Linked DNA regions of Homo sapiens: region 2 is linked to region 1. Evidence: promoter capture Hi-C in human tissues and cell types (Jung and others, 2019). All regions are on one chromosome and are shown on one strand. The core of a region is centred on a gene start or on the middle of the fragment in contact, and the rest is flanking DNA. Distances in the headings are between cores, read along the strand shown.

What was found. Contacts are between HindIII fragments. The study calls those that stand out against the background at their distance.
Region 2: a fragment that was not itself captured here is called in contact with the fragment with the promoter of HTR1E in region 1 in 2 of the 25 tissues and cell types used here (aorta and liver).

Annotation. Positions count from the first base shown.
Region 1 is chr6:86,936,023-86,941,650 of GRCh38, forward strand. HTR1E (5-hydroxytryptamine receptor 1E) reads left to right here and starts at 1,506. Exons shown (of 2, transcript NM_000865.3): 1 at 1,506-1,801. RefSeq lists enhancers at 1,290-1,845, 1,846-2,400. The HindIII fragment of the contact is 9,684 bases long and covers 1-5,628 here.
Region 2 is chr6:86,354,561-86,360,082 of GRCh38, forward strand. No RefSeq gene overlaps it. Among named protein-coding and RNA genes, the nearest start is that of HTR1E, 580 kb to the right of the region's middle. The HindIII fragment of the contact is 5,559 bases long and covers 1-5,522 here.

The DNA of each region.
Region 1 (5,628 bases), core at 256-2,755:
TAGTAGGAAAACATATTTCCACCTCATCCTCCTGTTAGACTTCAGTCTACTTAAGCCTATTCTCAGTTTAATGGGATTAACAGAAGCAAATCACAATTTAAGACTATAGTTTACCAACCTTCCTTTCTCTTGTTCAGTGAAATTCCCCTGATAATCCATCAGTCAACCCCTGCTGGCCTTGAGAGGCGCTCTAGAAGGCAGGAGAAGGGCACACAGGCTCGCTTTTTGAACTGAAGAAGGGTTTCATTTGGTTTAGAATTGTCAAACTTCAAAAAATAAATAAATAACTTAAAGTGTTTTTCAAATCAGCCATAAGGCTACAAACCAGAAAGAAAAGTGTGAGGCAGGTGTTTGGGGCAGCTACCCAAGTTGCCTACATGGTTTCCAAGGTCCTTTCAACTCTAAGGTTTGTGTATCAGGCTGTCTACAGATCATACTGTCTCCATAAGATTGTCTAGTTCATTTTATGGCTAGTTTGAACAATCTGATTTTCTTTTTTACAATGGCAGGGGCTCAATCCATGTTAGGCTTCAATGTTGAGTCACCCAAGTTCTCCACAGAGAATAACCAACCAGCCGTAAGGAAGCTTCTTTTAGCAATGCCAGGATTCTGCAAAGTCCCTCCCAGCTTAACTTTTCTGACCTTGCGGCAGCAGAACAACAAAAAGAACAGCCCCTGGCACCCTCAGAAGAGCACAAAGCCCTCTGACAACCTGAGATGGCGCCCAGGTAGACTTCCCTCAAAAAAAAAAAAAATGGCAAGGCTGCTTCAGCAGGTCTTTCAGCCCCAACCACTCCACTCTCCGTCTCCTTTTCTTCACTGCTTTCCCCACCTCTCTTCCCCCCTTCCACTTTGACCCACCCCAATTTTCGTCCACTTCTCCCTCACCCCTTCCTTGTAATCTCTCTCCTTGAGGCATCCTGTGGATGTTGACTGTAATCTCCCCTGGAGGAGGGCTAAGAAATGCACCTCCAGAGGGTCTGTTTGCCATTGGAACCGCGTAGAGAAAGCGTGCAAACCCGTCAACTGCTCCCGCCGTTCCTCTCCCTCCTCAACCCAGGCTCGCTACAGAAGAAGGGAGTAGGGTCTGCCCCCTTGTTGTATCTATTTTCCCCTTCTCCGCCAGGGCTGTGGCCGGCAAGGGGCTCAGGAGGTGAGTCCCTTGCCCACACCTCCAACCCCGCTGGCCCGGTTTATAACATGGACAGCCCTGCCCTCTAGTGTCTGCAACCGGGAGCCCTAAGGCGCCATCAGCTCCAGAATTTCTCTTTTATAACCTAAGCAAGACCTGGAGTACCTCGGAGCTGCGACCTCCAGTTCACAATACCACCTGCCTCACACCCGGGCTCATCTTTTCATCCCACACCCACCACCCCCCTCTCCGTTCACGGTGTCCCGGGAGGCTGCGACCTGCGTAGATGATTTAGCAGACTGCCCCTGCCCATGCTCCTGCTCCTGCTCCTCCTCCTCCTCTTCCCCGCTCTCTCCCTCTCGCCTCCTCTTCCAGTCCAGGCGCCCAGACTCGGCGAAGCGCAGCGCCTGCCACCAGCGGTGCCTCGGGCTGCCCGGCGCGCCGCGCTCCCAGGTTCTGTCTCGCCGCACCCCGGCGGGCACTGGCGCGGGCAAGGACGCTGGCGGGGAGAACGCCCTGGGCTCAACGTACTCCAGAATCGAATGTTGAGAGAAGCAGTGCTCTGATCCAGCTCAGGAGAAAAAGGAGCGGGTTCCGAGTGAGACTTCTGGAGCCAGCTGGACGTGCCGGTTTGCCCAGTGCGGCGCGGCTGCACGCACCGTCCACAAGGTGAGGGGCGCACACCTTCCGGGACGACCTTGGCTTCCCTTCTTACCCCCACCCACTCCAGGTACTCCAGCTCTGGCTTGGGGATGTTTGCCAGCTTTGAGGCGCAAAGGCGGCGGGAGTTGGGATGCGGGGTGTCGGAGGGAGACTGAGGGTCGCCCGGGCACCGTGCCTGCACCCTGGATTATAGTACAGAGAGCATTTCTTGTTCAAACAATTCCTCAAATGTGTGAACCTGAGAATCAACATTGTGTATAACTGTGGTTTGAGCATTTCATCCTGCTTCCTTGCAAAAGGATTAGAGGCAGCTTAAAGATTAAATAGGTATGGAACGGGTGCTGGGGGGGGCCAGGGAAAACTTGAGTAGAAATCACAGGGAGGTGGTGTGCTCCAGGGACCCCGGAAGAACTGTGTGATTTCAAAGCCAGCTGATTAAAAAACCTTTGATTAGAAAGGACTGCACTGTTGCTCCAGCCCTCAGAAAATAATACTGTGCTCAGTCCTGATAAACAAAATGCCCAGGTGTGGAGGTAATGAGGCAGGCTCATTTTTTTTAAAATACAAAATAAATCTTGGAAGTAAGAGTTAAGATGAGAAGTTTGGTCTTAAGCCATCTCCACCCAATACTGCAAGGTGAGAGGCTGACCCCCTACCTAACGAAAAGGAAAGGAAATTGAGTCTAAAGGGAAGTGATTCCAGCTCCTATCACAGGATCATAGTGGTTTTGCATCTATATGTATATTTCTGCCTGTGCCCAGTTTTGGAAGAAAGGACCTTGTATTCAACCCAACGCTGCTTGTCCTTGAGTTAGAAGGATAAGGCAGATGGTGTCAGCATCCCAAGGTGTTTCTTCCTAACCTTTCTTATTGTCCTTCCTTGCCTCCTGCACCAAATCTCTTGGGGAGGGAGCAGCCCAGGAGGAAATAATAGATCGTCAAATGGGTTGGGGGAGCAGTGTTTTTTCCAAAATAATTTAGGCTCATTTTATCATTCTTATGTTTTCCCTCAAAGCTCTAAGCAGTACATCGTCCTAAGCTGAATTTAACATTGCTCCAGAATATATATTTATCATAGTTGTACATTCAGACACAATATGCATAACCTTAAACAGCCAGGATGCACTTGTGAATCAGGGGCTTCCCTTACTTAATCCTGCGCAAGAGAGGCAAAGCAGGCACGTGGGTCTGATTCCCTGTGCGGTCTCCTTCATGAGGAGCATATGTGAAATACCTTTGAAATACAGAGAAGATTGAGACAGCTTTTCTCTTTCTGGTACAGTTGCTTTCCTGCTGAATTAAATGAGATGACCCTGTCTTCAACAAATAAATGAATGGAGGCATTTGAGGCCCATTTAACAAATGCACAAAATATGCCTGCCTCTGTTTTTCCTCCCTTCAGAGCTTTAGCCTCCAGCCCACGGAGTTGTGATGATGAAGCCCACCTCCTAAGTGGGACTCAGCTCAGTTTCTGTATCATATTTAAAACAGAGTATGTTGCTTATTTCTAAAATTGCATAGCACCTCACCACTAACTATTTTGCTGCATAGAGGTATTTCATCACTAAGAGAGCTATATAGAGAAACTCACTCAAATCCTGATTCATCATTGTTGATAGAACTTAACTATTGTGTCATCATCACCTGACATGGGCTGCAGAAGCTCCAAGGATTGCTATAGATCTCAATTGAGACTTCTAGTAACAGAGCTAGAAAGGAGCCTTTTAAAGTGTAGCCATGACTCTGGTCATTAGGTATATGCATGTTCAAATATTCCCTTACGTGCTTGTTTTCGCTTTCATAACAATTTCCAGGGATGAAAACTTAGCAGATTATTTTTATAATGAAGAGTATTCAAATTAACAATGTGTATCCACCAGCTAACAAGTTTTAAATTCCACAGAAATCAGCATCACAAGCATAGTAAAATCAAGTTTTCATTCTTTCCTCTTCTGCCATAATGACTTCATTCAAGGCCTAGTCCCAGACCAAGTGCATGGAAACGATGGCTCATGTCTCTCAACATTTGCCCAAGGGAATGGTGCCTACCTTGCAACTCAGCGTGATGTCACCTTTATTAGCCATTCTGGTGTCTATACAAAATATTTGCTCCCCATTTCTTCTTATCGATGCCTGGTCAGCAACAATCATGTAAATAAGTTTCCATTCTTTTGAGGAAGATAACGAAGTCAGCGTTTTTCAGAAGTGGTGCCTAGGAAGAGACAAAATCCAGGACACACCTCTAGTTCAGGTAACACTGCAATATATTTCAATTTCCTGCTGCGTGATGGGGTTATTATTGAAGAGGGAAGTAAGGTATATCATTCACAGCACATTGTCCCCACCTGGCTCAAGCACCACCCATTCCCCAGGTGGGCTCAATATGCTACCCCCACCACCACCAAGATACCAAGGCTGCAAATGAAAAGTAGATCTCAGCCAGGCATGATGGGTCACACCTGTAATTCCAACACTTTAGGAGGCCAAGGCAGGAGGATCACATGAGCCCATGAGTTCGAGACCAGCCTGAGCAAAATAATGAGAACTCATCTCTACAAAAAAATTTAAAATGAGCCAAGTATAGTGGTGTGTACCTGTAGTCCCAGCTACTTGGGAGGTTGAAGTGAGAGGATCGCTTGAGCCCAGAAAGCCAAAGTTGCAGTGAGCCAAGTTTGTGCCACGGCACTACAGCCTAGGTGACAGAGCAAGGCCTTGTCTCAAAAAAAGAAAAGAAAAGAAAGAAAAAGAAAGTAGGTCTCTTTGCAGAAAGCCTCAGGCCCTGAACTTTTGTGTCATCTTCTCATTACTCAAGTCTAATTCCCTACATCTCACTTTTACACACAGATCATTTTTTTCATGTTTGTTTTGATTGCCCACCCTGGAATTCTATTTCTGCACTACCCTTTAAAAGTGAAAGATCAAATCTAACGCTCTAATGTGGGAAAGCATTCCCTCTATTTCTACAAGCTTATTTACACAAAAAAATAAGCTTGAGACTGATCAAAAGCTGAATTTCTACCAAATAGGAACTTACTTTTTATGCCGTAAATTATCAAGGCCATCTCAAGGCAGAGGTGAGTTTAGCATCTCATGCTTTATGCTCCTTTCTTCTGCACCTACCAGATTTTTATTACATGTGAAATTATATGAACATAAACCCCAGGGAAACATTGAAGATGAGTGTGCCGTCACAAGTGACGAGGGGACAGATGAACAGGGAAGAGAAATGGGGCAGCAGCACTTTAGAGTGACTTACTTCTCTCTTGTTTTCTCCTCCCTGAATCATTTTCTAGAACCAGTATTGTGGCCCCTAAAATTTGGGGCTTAGGTCAGTCAACTTACCAAAGTTCATCTTCCTGGTGATGAAAGGACTTTCATCAAAATCCCAGCTACTTTTTATTCGTTCCCACATTTTGTGGATTAAGAAACTGAGAACCAGAATTTATAGAGATCACTCAATCAATTGGCATATTCCCGGATCACAACAAATTGATAAAATTCTTGAGAACCCTCTTTCTAATACAGATTGACTATAATTTTGTCTTTCATTTTTAGTTCTCTTATTTTGTCTCATGCACTGTGGATTATCTGGTTTACTGCAGTCCTTACCTGAATAGATGTCAGTGTTTTGATCCCATTGTTGTATTCCCCTAAAACACGTCAAATGAAAAACTGGACACTTTAATAGGTTTATTGTTAGCACTCTCTCATGCTGATCAATTCTCAACACATGCAGTTGTAGGATTAGGAAGACAAAATCCTTTAGAAGAAGCTATGAAACCTAATCCTTCTGCATCTGGATCATTTTAAACTACAAGTTGTAAGAGGAATGAG
Region 2 (5,522 bases), core at 1,507-4,006, 580 kb before region 1:
TTCCCCCTGTTGTTTAGGAGAGCTACCTAAAAGCCTAGTGTGAAGGGATTCCTGGACAAGAGCAGCTTCTCTCCAGAAAAGGAAGGGAAAATAGATCCTAATTTCAGACAAATCATACACAGAAATGTATAGAACAAGAGAATTTAGTTCTATTTTGGTCTCTTTAGCAGAGAGCTGCTGCTTCTAAACCTCTTATTTATTTATTTATTTTCATTCTCATGAAGCCCTTTATTTATCAATCTGTACATATTCAAACAGCCATCCACCAGCTTTTGGGGTGCAAGTGAAGCTTGTTTCAAAATCTTGCACCCCACTTCTTACTATGAGCCTAAACAAAGGCCTGAAAATGAGACCAGGGATCAGGTTCAGGGCCCATAGTGGGGGAACTATTATAAACTAGTGTTTTTCCTCTACCAATATGGTTTTGTAGGCCTTCCTTTTCAGGTCTAATATTTTAGATGTATTGTTTTTATGCTATAAAACATCTCTCTTTAAATAATTTTTCATGAGAAGGTAATTAGATGTACAGTGATAAAAAGCATGCAAAATTTGTGAAGATTTTTCATGCTTGTGATGGAGAGAGGGCAGAAAGGTAAGACTGCTGGTGCTCTGGAAAGTGGGAGCTACAATTGCTTCTTCTCATTTATCAAATTACAGCCTTTTTGCTGTTTCATTTCCTGACTTTGAATTCTACTTTTCTGTAGTAATATTAACTAGAGAAATGAAACATCTTATCATACCTATTAATATTTTTTAAAATTTGTTACATAAAAGAGGGTAATATATTTAAATCCTAATGGCTTTTATTTTTTATAGAGTATTTCTTTTGTAGATCCCCTTTCTGAGTCACAGGGTCCTTATCTGCCTATCAGAAGCATAGCAAGAGAGAGAATGGGGAAGAACATTCCTGTGGGCATGGCCCTGGGGTTACAAAGGATGGGTGAAAGGGCTCCTTATCTGCCATCACAGAGGGTAGACCCAGGAAGTAATGGTGATGGCCAGATTTTTTTTTGCTCACAGTAACCTTAAACCAATCATTTAGTTTTAAAGAGTGAATTTATTTAAATAGTAAAAAATAATAACAAAAAGCAGCATATACACACTTCTTAGATATTACTAATATGGCTAAATATTAAATGAAGTGAGCTAACAGCCTAAGAGAAAATTCGAATGCCTGCTTTCATCCAAATCTTCTAAAAGTGGACAAAAGCTCTCATTGTTATATCAGGAAAATTGGAGAGAGAAAATAGATCTAATTTTCTATTCTTGTCACTGCAGTGCTCAGAATCCTTGAGTAGCTTCTCACTTTTGCTCTACATATCAAACCAAAACTTTTAGCCACAGCTTCAAATTCAAATGAATGGCTTGCCTTTCCTGTCTGCTCTCATCTCCTTTAGCACCCTAGCAGGAACCCTGTCCTGCAGCACAAACAGCCTCCCCACAGAATCCTGTGGTCAGATTTTTCTATCTTGTTGTTCACTGAGCACGCACTCTGGGCCAAGTGCTCACCCTGCCCTGGAGTCTTTTCCCATGTGCCTTGCAAGCATGAGGTCTCCCTATTTCTCAGCTCTACTCCTACCCAGGATCAGACTTGCGTTTTGGAAAAATCATCCTGATAATAGTTTTGAGAAAGGAAGGCTGGGAAGGAGGTGACTAAACAGAGAGTATCAGTAAAGGTAAATACAAACAACTGGGGTGGGAAAGGACAGGACGGATTGCCTCTACACAAATTAAGAAGTTAGAGGAAAGATGACTTAGTGCCCAATTCAGTATGAAAAGTTAAATGGGAAAAGGAGTATCTTTACATGATTCCATGCATTTTCGTTTACTCATATTAGCTATTAATTATCCAGATTTATTATTAATTGAAACATTATTTTACTAGGACCTCATTTAATAATAACTTAAAAGGCACTTTTAAAAGATGGTATCTATAGTAACTAGTATTTCACTTTTAGAAGCACAAGTGTTGTCTTTAGATCAAGATTAGCTAATCAAATGAGTCGTACTATGAAAATGATAATTATTTGCAGGCTGTGAATATAAAATATGTACTATTCACGAAGTTGCTGCAAAAACTTACTCCCTGCAGTTTCAATGCCCTAGTTTTCTCAAAACACTCCTGATATATTTTTTCTAAATTATACCCTAAAATAAACAATAGTTAAACAATTTTATCATCAAATCATACAAGCTTATTGTAAAAATATGGAAAATATAGATGTTATAGGGAAAAAATCACCTATAATCAATATCAATTATAGAAAATAAAGATTAAAGGAAAGCCAATGAATTATGTGAATATTCTCTTAGTCTTTTTATTGCCATAAATGTATATGTATATGTACATATACACAATAATTGGAATCATTGTGTATCTTATAATTTATATTTTTTCTTATTTAATGTTATGTCTCAAGAGTTTTCCATCAGTATTAGAATTGTTACAAAAGCACAATTTTAAAGAATAGATAATATTCCAATATATAAATGTGGCATAATTTAATTTTTTTTTTCTGTGATGACACTGTGGCATAGACTAGTTAGATGATCATCAATCCCATTTCCTCTTCCTAGGCACCCAGAAAGACGATATTTTCAAACCTCTCTTGCAGTTAGACTGATGTCATATAACTGACTAATGGTCAATGAAATCTGGGCCAGGAATATCAGGCCTGGCCCCTAAAATATACCTTTCAGTCTCCTTTTCTTTTCTTTCCTTTTCTTTTACTTTCTTTTCTTTTTCTTTTTCTTTCTTTTCTTTTCTTTCTCTGCAGAAGCAGAAGGACTCAGACAATAGAGTTTTATATAGAAAGACATCCCTCAAAGTCACCACTTGGAGGAGAACCACACAAGAAAGTCCCTCAGCCTGCATCAAATTCTGGTGTGACTAGGAAATAAATGTTATTGTGTGAAGCCTCCAGGAAGTGAAGCTTGTTTGTTTCAGTGGCTACTATTATTTATGCTGACTAAAGCCAAAGTTTGAGTTTTTCTAATTTTACTTAATTTAAAAATATACCAAAATGCATAACACTTCAAATAAATATCATTGTATGTACTTATTGTTTTCTTAAGATAAATGACTTAAGATAAATCTGGGTGGGACTTTTGTCTTTCACGAGGATCTAGAAAGCTGGAAAGAACATCACTCCTAATAATGAAAAAATAATAAGGAAAACCTGGATAATTTACAAAATAATATCTTTTCTTAGAATCATAAGAGCTGAAGTCATAGGCAACTCACTGGCCAAGAATGTAGGGACAGCAGTGCACCTCCCTGGAGTGACAGGACACTAGCACTGTCCCACCTGTGAGAGCAAGCAGGGAAGACAAGGCTTCCTTCCCTACAAGTGCAGGTGTTAGAAGCATTAAGCCAAGATTTGTGTCAAATTGTTAAAGGCTGAATGTGGGTCAGCATGAAATTATAGAATTCCTGTGAGCTGAAGACAGAGGGGCATTTGTGCCCAGTTGCAGGCTCTTCTTCACGGACTTGCTGGGTGTTCAAGAGAAAGAACAGGGTGGGTGGACAGGGCAACAAAACACATGCACTGTCCGTGGTGCTGGCCAGAAATGAGGGCAGTAACCACTGTGAGAAACATGAAATTTTCCCTGTTTCCTTATTTCTAAGGAATAAATTCTTATCCGGCTTGGGTAAGGATAGCGAAGGCTGTTATCCCAAGGCTCTGGTGGAAGATCCACTATTGTGAAGGCAGGGAGAGGAGTAAACCTTCTACCCATGTAGTAGGAGCCCAGATCTGGAGAGGCCTTCTTCTGCTGAAGAAGGGGAAGGTCACTAAAGGAAAGCCCTACCCTGAGATCAGGTAACAGAGATTTCCCACCCCCCACCAGGCTGACAAGCACCAAGAAGTAACAAACAGCAGCAGACTATCTTTGGGGAAGGCACAAAGAGAGAAAGAGAGAGACCCTCTCATAGGCATTGGTTCACCTAAAACTGAGAGTAGAGCAGGAATATTGGAAAAATCCTCTGGCACCCCCACCCTGAACAAAGGTTACATGAGAGGAATTTGAAGAAATGCCCTGAAAGTAACCTTAGTGACAACAAAACCAAGTTCAACTCCTAACTACACTGACTCAACCACCCACACTAATGGCTTAGCAGAAGAGGCATGACCATTTCTAGGCATGAATTCTGTTGAACTACCTTATACAGTGCCTTGTTAGCTACAGTAGGATTTTGGCTTTCACTCTGACTTTGATGAAAAGCCATTGCAGGGTTTTTAATATCATAATCTGATATATTTTAAAAGGATAATTCAGGATTCTGAATTGGAAATAGAGAAGGAAAAGGGTGAAAGTAGGAGACCACTTAAAGAGGCTATTGCAGTAATCCAGGCAAGAGAGGCTTTCTCATCTCTGGACCTGTATAGAAGCAGTAGAGGTCATGAGATAGCTTAGTGTCAGGGTCTATTTTGATGCTAGAGCTAGTAAGATTTAAAAATGGATTAGAGGGTGGAGAGAAAGAGAGAGGAAAAGGATAACTCCAAGATTGACCTGAGCAACTGGAAGAGTGAGTTGACATTTATCAAATGGGGAATACTAGAGGAGGAGCAGATTGAGAAAGTGAGAGCAAAAATTTGGGTTTATCCCTGTTGAATCTGAGTTGCCTGTTAGATATTAGAGTGAAGATAATAAGTACAGTGTTGAGGGCATGAGTCCGAGTTAAAGGAGGAGTAGGCTGAAGATATAAATTTGGAAGATGTCAGCAATTAGGTGATGTTTTATAGCAGTGAGACTGGATTATATCATGTAAAAAGTGAATGTCAATTGGGAAGAGAAAAACCTACAGGACTGAGTCTTGGGGCTTTCCAAAATTCAGAAGTAGGGGAGGTGAAAAGGAACCAGCAAAGGAGATTAAGAACAAATAGCTGGTGAGGTAGGAAGACTACCAAGAGAACAATGTCCTCCTAGCCAAGCCAATAAATGCTTCAAGGAGGGAGTGGTTCTCTCTGTTAAATATTACCAATATAAACAGATAAAGACAGAAATGTTCTATGGATACAGTTCTTTGTGATATTTAGAGCAAATACTTTTCCCAGTTGTTGATTTTTTTCAGTGTTTGTTTTTAAAATATGTATTTTAAATGTTCTTTTCATAGAAAAAATATCAATTTTATGTAATAAATTCCATTGAATTTTTTCCTTCTAGTTTCTTTCTTTGGTTTATAATTTAGGACAAACTTTTTCATACAGAAATTTGAAAACAATATTATATTTTATTCTAGTTTTTTACAGTTTTATTATGTATCAATCTTTGTAAATATAGTTTCAATTCCTATATCAAAGGGACATATGACAGTTTAGTTATCAATTCCCCTAATGTATATTTGAAATATATATATTTCAAATCTTTTTAATATGAAAAAGACGACAACGTTTATCTTCTCATTTAAGTCTATTCACATTTTTGAAAATATCTTTTGCGTATGTGCTTACATGTGAAAATTGTTCGGCCATAAAATTATATTAAAAGTATAACATTAATTGTTATATAGGTAGTTAATT